2 separate regions of the Homo sapiens genome follow, and region 1 is linked to region 2. Evidence: promoter capture Hi-C in 16 types of primary human blood cells and fetal thymus (Javierre and others, 2016). All regions are on one chromosome and are shown on one strand. Each heading gives the region's core, a stretch centred on a gene start or on the middle of the fragment in contact. The rest is flanking DNA. Distances are from core to core; before and after follow the strand shown.

Evidence for each region. Contacts are between HindIII fragments. The CHiCAGO score rates a contact against its expected background, and 5 or more counts as called.
Region 1: a fragment that was not itself captured here is called in contact with the fragment with the promoter of SLC9A4 in region 2 in 1 of 17 cell types (M2 macrophages); the score reaches 5.2 in M2 macrophages.

What each region holds. Positions count from the first base shown.
Region 1 is chr2:102,571,237-102,575,830 of GRCh38, forward strand. No RefSeq gene overlaps it. Among named protein-coding and RNA genes, the nearest start is that of SLC9A2, 46 kb to the right of the region's middle. The HindIII fragment of the contact is 1,643 bases long and covers 1,566-3,208 here.
Region 2 is chr2:102,471,322-102,475,567 of GRCh38, forward strand. It overlaps SLC9A4 (solute carrier family 9 member A4), which reads left to right and starts at 1,905. Exons shown (of 12, transcript NM_001011552.4): 1 at 1,905-2,694. The coding sequence starts at 2,439. The HindIII fragment of the contact is 5,984 bases long and covers 89-4,246 here.

The DNA of each region.
Region 1 (4,594 bases), core at 1,137-3,636, 100 kb after region 2:
TGGTTATTCTAGTTATACATTCTTCTAAATTTTTTTCAAAGTTTTCAACTTCTTTGCCTTTGGTTTGAATGTCCTCCCGTAGCTCAGAGTAATTTGATCGTCTGAAGCCTTCTTCTCTCAGCTCGTCAAAATCATTCTCCATCCAGCTTTGTTCTGTTGCTGGTGAGGAACGGCGTTCCTTTGGAGGAGGAGAGGCGCTCTGCGTTTTAGAGTTTCCAGTTTTTCTGTTCTGTTTTTTCCCCATCTTTGTGGTTTTATCTACTTTTGGTCTTTGATGATGGTGATGTACAGATGGGTTTTTGGTGTAGATGTCCTTTCTGGTTGTTAGTTTTCCTTCTAACAGACAGGACCCTCAGCTGCAGGTCTGTTGGAATACCCTGCCGTGTGAGGTGTCAGTGTGCCCCTGCTGGGGGGTGCCTCCCAGTTAGGCTGCTCGGGGGTCAGGGGTCAGGGACCCACTTGAGGAGGCAGTCTGCCCGTTCTCAGATCTCCAGCTGCGTGCTGGGAGAACCACTGCTCTCTTCAAAGCTGTCAGACAGGGACACTTAAGTCTGCAGAGGTTACTGCTGTCTTTTTGTTTGTCTGTGCCCTGCCCCCAGAGGTGGAGCCTACAGAGGCAGGCAGGCCTCCTTGAGCTGTGGTGGGCTCCACCCAGTTCGAGCTTCCCGGCTGCTTTGTTTACCTAAGCAAGCCTGGGCAATGGCGGGCGCCCCTCCCCCAGCCTCGTTGCCGCCTTGCAGTTTGATCTCAGACTGCTGTGCTAGCAATCAGCGAGATTCCGTGGGCGTAGGACCCTCTGAGCCAGGTGTGGGATATAGTCTCGTGGTGCGCCGTTTCTTAAGCCGGTCTGAAAAGCGCAATATTCGGGTGGGAGTGACCCGATTTTCCAGGTGCGTCCGTCACCCCTTTCTTTGACTCGGAAAGGGAACTCCCTGACCCCTTGCGCTTCCCAGGTGAGGCAATGCTCGCCCTGCTTCGGCTCGCGCACGGTGCGCACACACACTGGCCTGCGCCCACTGTCTGGCACTCCCTAGTGAGATGAACCCGGTACCTCAGATGGAAATGCAGAAATCACCTGTCTTCTGCGTCACTCACGCTGGGAGCTGTAGACCGGAGCTGTTCCTATTCGGCCATCTTGGCTCCTCCCTCTCCCCCGAAAATTCATCATTAATTAACCAGTAAGCATTAAGTTAACTGTGGAGGGGGATTAATAGACACCTGTTATCAGAGTAAGTTCTCTTCTATTTCTAATTTAAGAATTTTTACATTAATGGATTGTATATTACATCAAATGCTTTATCAGAATCTAATACAGTAATCAAATCATTTTTATTTTTTATTTTGTTAATGTAGTAAACAAATTAACTTTTTTATTAATTTTAAAATGTTGAACTACCCTTTCATTCCTGAGATAAACCCAACTTGATCATCATGTAGTAGTTTTTAATATATTCCTGGATCCTATCGCTAATATTTTTGTTGAAGATTGATGTATCTTTGTTCATGAATAATATTGGTCTACCATTATCTCTGCTTGGTAATGCCCTTAACATGTTTTGATACTAAGCTTATACTGGCTTCATAAAATGAGATGTGATGTATTTCCCTGTATCTTTTCAAAGAGTTCACATAGGTTTGGTGTTATCTCCTCATTAAATATTTGATAGGACTTGTGTGTAAAACCATCTAAACTTATAGTTTATTTGTGGTAAGGTTTTTAAACAATAAACTCAATTTCTCTAGCAGATATTAAGCCATTTGACTATTTCTTCTGAAATCACTTTTAGTGATTTGCGTATTTCAATACCTTTTTCTATTTTGTCTAAGTTGGCAAATTTATTGGCATGAGGCTGTTCATAATACCATCTTATTATACTTTTATGTCCTTTACAATCTCTAGTATGTAATAATTGTGTTTCGTCTTTCATTTCAATTTTAGTTGAAATGTAGTAATTGTACATATTTATGGATATTTGTATACAATGTGTAATAATCAAATTAGGGTAATTAGCATATCCATCAACTCAAACATTTAGCATTTCTTTGTGTTGAGAACATTCAAAAACCTCTTTTCACTATTTTGAAATATACAACAACTATGGTTAACCACAGTCACCTTGCTGTGCTATAGAAAACTGAGCTTGTTTCTCCTATCTAACTGTAATCTTGTACCCATTAACCAACCTCTCCTTATTTCCCCCTCCCCACTACACTTCCCAGTATCTGGTAACCATTATTTTACTCTCTACTTGTATGTGATTTACATTTTTAGCTCCCACATATGAGTAAAAACAGGTAGTATTTGTCTTTCTGTGCCTAGGTTCACTTAACATAATGTCTTCCAGGCTCATTTATGTTGCCCCAAATAATAGGATTTCTTTTTTATGGCTAAATAGTATTCTATTATGTACCTATACCGCATTTTCTTTATCTGTTTATCCATTGATGAACACTTAAGTTGATTCTGTATCTTGACTATTGTGAATAGTGTTGCAATAAACATGAGAATGGAGATATTGCTTTGACATACTGATTTCCTTTCCTTTGGATATGTTCCAAGTAGTGGATTGCTAAATTACATGGTATTTCTATTTTTAGGTATTTTAAATTTTATTTTTAACTGACAAATAATAATTGTACATATTCATGGGATACATAGGGATGTTTTGATATGTGTGGCGTAAAGGGATCAGGTCAGGTTCAGTAGCAAATCCATCATCTCAAACATTTATCATTTCTTTTCATAATGGCAGTACTAATTTACATTCCCACCAATAGTGTATGAGTCCCTTTTTGTCTAAATCATTGCCAGCATTTGTTATTTTTATATCTCAATGTGATTTTGATTCACATTTCTCTGATAATTAGTGAAGCTCAGTATTTTTTCATATACATACTGGACATTTGTATCTATTCAGATTATTTGCCCATTTTTAATTAGAATTTTTTGCTTTTTTGTTGTTGGGTTGTTTGAGTTTCTTATGTATTCTGGAGGTTAATCACTTTTAGGTGGATAATTTGAAAATATTTTCTCCCATTTAGATTGTCTCTTCATTCTGTTTTTTCCTTTGCTGTGCAGAAGGTTTTTAGTTTGATATAATCCTGTTTGCCTATTTTTGCTTTCATTTCCTATGCCTTTGAGGTATTATCCAAAAATTCTTTGCCCAAATCAATATTCTGAAGTATTTCTCCTATGTTCTTTTCTAGAAGCTTCATAGGTTTCAGCCTTACATTTAAGTCTTAAGTCCATTTTGAATTGATTTTTTTATATGGTGAGAGATATGGGTCTAGTTTTGTTCTTCTTTATGTGTATATCCAGTTTTCCCATCACTATTTATTGAAGAGACTGTCCTTTCCCCACTTTACATTCCTGATGCCTTGGTTGAAATCAGTTGGCTATAAATATGTGAATTTATTTCTGGGTTATCTATTCTGTTCCATTGGTCTGTGTGTATGTTTTTATGCCAGTACTATGCGGTTTTGGTTACTATAGCTTTGTAGTATATTTTGAAGTCAGGTAAAGTGATATTTCCAACTTTGCTTTTCTGCTCAAAATTGCTTTGGTCATTTGGAGTCTTTTGTGGTTCCATATAAATCTTAAGGTTTTTTTCTCTGTTTCTGTGAAGAATGTCTTTGGTATTTTTATAACAATTGCATTGAATCAGTAGATCCCTATGGATATTATAAAAATATTCTTCTAATCCATGAACATGGGATATCTTTGCATTTTTTGCTCTTTTTGATAATTTTTATAAGTGTTTTATAGTTTTCATTGTAGAGGTCTTTAACCTATTTGGTAAAATTTATTTCCAGGATTTTATTATTTTTTAGCTATCATAAATGGGATTTCTTTTTCAGATTGTTAGCTATTGGCATAGAGAAGTGCCACTGGTTTTGCATGTTGATTTTATATCCTGTGTCTTTACTGAATTCATTTATCAGTTCTAAGTTTTTTTAGTGGAGTCATTAGGTTTTGCTACATATAAGATTTTGCAGTAGACTCCCAGGATGACATTGAATAAAAGTGGTAAAAGTGGGCATTCCTATCTTGTTTTAGATATTAGTGGAAAGTTTTTCAACTTTTTCCCATTCAGTATGAAAATATTGTCATGTTAGCTGTAGGTTTGTCATATAAGGCCATTATTGTTTTGAGATATATTGCTTTGATACTTAATTTGTTGAGAGTTTCTATCATGAAAGAATATTGAATTTTATCAAATGCTTTCTCTGCATTTATTAAGATGATTATATGGTTTTTGTCCTTAATTCTGTTTATATGATGTATCATGTTTATTGAATTGTATTTGTTGAACCATCCTTACATCTCTGGGATAAATCCGACTTAATCATGGTATATAATCTTTCTGATGTTCTATTGAATTTGGTTTCCTAGTATTTTGTTGAGGACTTTTGCATGTATGTTTATTAGGGATATTGGTCTGTAGTTTTCTCTTTTTATTGTGTTTTTGTCTAATTTTGGTGTCAGGGTATACTGGCCTCATAGAATGAGTTTTAAAGAATCCTCTTTAATTGTCTGAAATTATTACAGAAGAATCAGTATTAGTTCTTCTTTAAAAGTTTGGTATAATTCAAC
Region 2 (4,246 bases), core at 655-3,154:
GCTTCTTATGCTGTCATTCTAGAAGAGCTTCTCCTTTCTTCCCCCTTTCCCCTCACTTTTGCTGCCCTTAGTTTGCACTTCTCATGGAAGCTTTGTCTCACATACACTTTCTGGGGACCTTATACTAAGAAATCATTTTAGAAAGAATGTTCTGACATCTGTAAGAAAGTACTGCATGAGTGGAAGTGATGCCGATGGTTGATGAAGTGGGCTGCTACATCTTAACCTGGACCACAAGTTAGTAGACTGTTGCAGAGCTCAAGTTGTTCTCTTACCATCCTCCCAAGATTGGCATTTTTACTCTGAGAGGGACTGGACTATCAGCCATCAGGTGATCATAAGGCTAAACGGGTTGCCATATACTCACAAAATTTGGAATTTTAGAGCAGGAAAGGGTTACCAGGTATGGACAGCATCTTTATTTTATAGATGAGAAAACTATAAAGGCTCAAACTATAAGGCTCAAACAGGTAATTTTCCAAAGCCAATCAGATAACTAATGTCTGAGTACATAAGTCTTTTGATTCTTCATTTTGGTCTTTCCACAAGGCACTATGTGAGACTTGCTCCCTCATTTCTTTTTAGAAAGAAAAGTACAATAAAATGCAAATAAAAATAAAACACCTATTATAAAGCAGCTTTCTATTAAAGGATATTCATATATTCTTTGAGAAAAAATAATCGACTCAATATGTGTACCCTTCTTGTAGTCCACCTGATAGTCTCATTTCAGTGACTGAATCTAATCTATTCTGGAGTCAAACTGAAGGAAAAAGAAAAAATATTCATATGTGAACTTTTAATTCTATTGCCTCACTATGAATTTGCATCTAGGTGTTAGCCCTTCTCAACCATTCCTTTCTCAATTTCCCAGTGATGTTAGCTGAGTGTGTGTGTGTGTGTGTGTGTGTGTGTGTGTGTGTGTGTGTGTGTGTTGGCTGGGGGGAAATCCCCTGCACTCACTAATATGAACTAAGAAAAAACAAAACACAAAGCATCTTGCAGTTTGATGTAAAAGAGATGTTGGGGTAGTATATGGATGATGTATTATTCTCATTTTTTACTGAGTATCAGTAATCATTGCAAAAGTGTTGTATCTTATCCTAAAAGTATAAGAAATGTAATTTAAAATAAAAACTAACATTTAAGTGCCAACTACATGCCAAATTCTTTACTTGCTTTATCTCATTTAATGTTCCTAGCTACTCAATGAGGCAGATATTTTCCTCTCTGTTTCAGATAAGGAATTTCTGAAAGGTAATTAACTTCACCAAGGTCACCTGGCAACAAGTAGAAGAGCGAGAAGTAGGCTCATAAAAATTATCTCAAAATTCTTTCATCAACATTCTATGATGCTGCTTCTTTTTAACAACAACAAATGTTTTTTAAATGGAAAATCTGGATGTGCCATGGAGTTTTACAAATCCAGGTATTTAGGTGTATTTATGGAACTTGTTCTTTGGCTTCCTGTTTTTTAAAAATTATAGTGTAAAGTTCATAGAGATCTGGAACTTCATTCCTTCTATGAATGACTGCTCATGGAGTCTGGTAACATGCAAAAGTTTCAGTGTTTGCTACCATCCTTGTTGTTACCACCTCCTTCTTATCCTCCTTCTTCCTCATGTATAGAGACCATATAAGACAGTTTGCTGGACAATTCTGGTTTGTGCCTATAGCTTTGCATAATTATCATTATTATTCATTCCCCAAAGTGTCCTGGTTTAGATAATTTCATGGTCACCTTAACGTTCATAACTGAAAGTGTCAAGGGTGTTGTATTGCAGGTGCCCACTAGGTGTCAGCAGTGTGACCTCCAGAGAACCCTCAGAGAAAGGATTTCATTACAAAAGTCAAATCAAAGCAAATAATTAAGTGTAGTTCCAGAGCTACCTGAAGCCGTGGTCATTCAAAACAAATGAGAGGACAGGGGGAGGAGAGAAGGAACAAGCGCAGATCAGGTAGCTCCTTCTTGGGATCTGATAGACAGGGAAGGTTTCCTTTCCTCATTAGAAGGACTCCAGTGATCTGTGGAATGAGCACTACAGTATCCTTTTAAATTTTCACCCACAAGACAAAGCCAGTATGCAGTGAAATGAGGAAATGCCTTTAAGTGAAGAGATTTTTATTTCTTTCATAAATTGCTCAAGCCATGATTGGATGGAGGTCCTCCAGGTAGCTCCATGGACTTTAACAAGTCTATTGAATAACTGCATTTGAGTTGGAAGCTGAGTTGCCTGAACACAAACGATTTAAACCAGATTAGAAAGTGTCTACATACAGAGCTCAATAACACACTCGGAATCTTCTTGGGAGGACCCACAGACTGTACCTATATTACTTTTGACCCAGGTGGATGCAGTCACTCTCTAGAAGCCTCCCCGACTTCAGATGTGTGGCACACATCCACACAGGGGTGTAGGTAGGAGAAGCCCACAGGAATGGCTCTGCAGATGTTCGTGACTTACAGTCCTTGGAATTGTTTGCTACTGCTAGTGGCTCTTGAGTGTTCTGAAGCATCTTCTGATTTGAATGAATCTGCAAATTCCACTGCTCAGTATGCATCTAACGCTTGGTTTGCTGCTGCCAGCTCAGAGCCAGAGGAAGGGATATCTGTTTTTGAACTGGATTATGACTATGTGCAAATTCCTTATGAGGTCACTCTCTGGATACTTCTAGCATCCCTTGCAAAAATAGGTAAGTCCTTAAACACCTGGTTTGGTGAGTTATCTTTTTACATAAGATAGTGAATGTGAAAATGCCTTATAGATAACGGGCTAAGAGGATTTTAACTGTTACTGCTATTACATTAAAAATTCTCTTCCCTTCAGTCAAGGGAAAGTCATAACTGCATTTTACTAAGCTATTTAATACTTTGAGATTGCTCTTTGAAATTTGAGAGCATACTTCTGGGTACTGGGCTGTGTTGGTTTCTTCTCATTTCAGGGTGACAACCATGTGACATTGTTGACATGCAAAACTCTCAAATTCTATGCTTTAAAAATATAGAGAATAAAGCACGTAGACCTGGGCATGATGCAAGGTGGAAATTTCAGGAAACACATAATGTTTCTTCTGTAAAATATTCTTGGCTGTGTAATTGTGGGCTTCATCAATCACCCCATTGTTTATTCTTTAAAAGTAGCGTGTGCTTCTTGCAAATTGACAGAAAGCAAAAAACAAGAAAACCATAGGCAACTTGTATTACTCAGTGATGGGATGTCGGGGCATATAAGATTATATCTGTCAGTAAAATATTAGTTTATACCTACCAAGTGGGGCCAGTGAGGCACCTCTAATTTCCTTTGTGAAATAAAGTGAATCCAAGTTAATAGATTAAATTCCAATCAAGGGATCTTTGTGTCAAAAACCAAAGAGGTGGCTATACTCTGTGACTGTTTAATCCCTAACTGCTCCTCCTTATCTCTTTAAAACCAGCTTATTCTAAAGTGGAAAATTAATATAATTATCTCAAATGCTAAGCACAATGCCTCCTTTGCCTCAGCTATAAACTTTATGCTATTTGAGTATGTAGATTGCCTTATTGAGATAGAATCAATGAAACATTTTAATTCTCATTTATTTATATGTGTATGTTTTCTCTAGGATGGGTGTGTAATGTGGGTTGAGCCTTGAGGTCTGGCAGTTACCTTCTGTGTGCTCTGGCTATTCACTTAGCTCCCTCCCTGTGGGTGTGGGGACACTGGTATAGGTGTCCCCTTTAGACTCTCCTTTATAGTTGCTATTCATTTTGAGCTAGTAAAGTGTGAATATTAAATAGGAATGTTAGTTTGAAGAAGTCTTGTGCAATTTGCTTAGTGAATAAGTTACACAAAGGATCTTACTATATTTTTAAGAGGTATACAAGTAAAAATGGCTTTCCAAATGGATAACATTCTCAGTTCAGAACAGTCTAACATCTTTTGTGAAATCATATAGACACTGATTGTGTTCAAGGTGATCTTACTTGGTACTTGAGTTTTCCTTTTAAAACAATATGCTAGAGATTCTGTGTTCCCTGCTCCCCATTCCACAACCTGGCTTCCTCTTCACAGAAATGGCTCAAGTCAATCTGAGTACCAGGAAACTCGTCCTGTCACTGACTAGCTAGTTGCTCTGTTTATCAGTAAACATCTAAACGCAGAAAGGCTGCATTTTGTCTTGGTTTTATATTTGTGTAAAACCTAGCTTGTTTTGTAGAGGCATTGTATGCACCCAGATTCATTCTGTCTAGGAGCGAAGAACACTG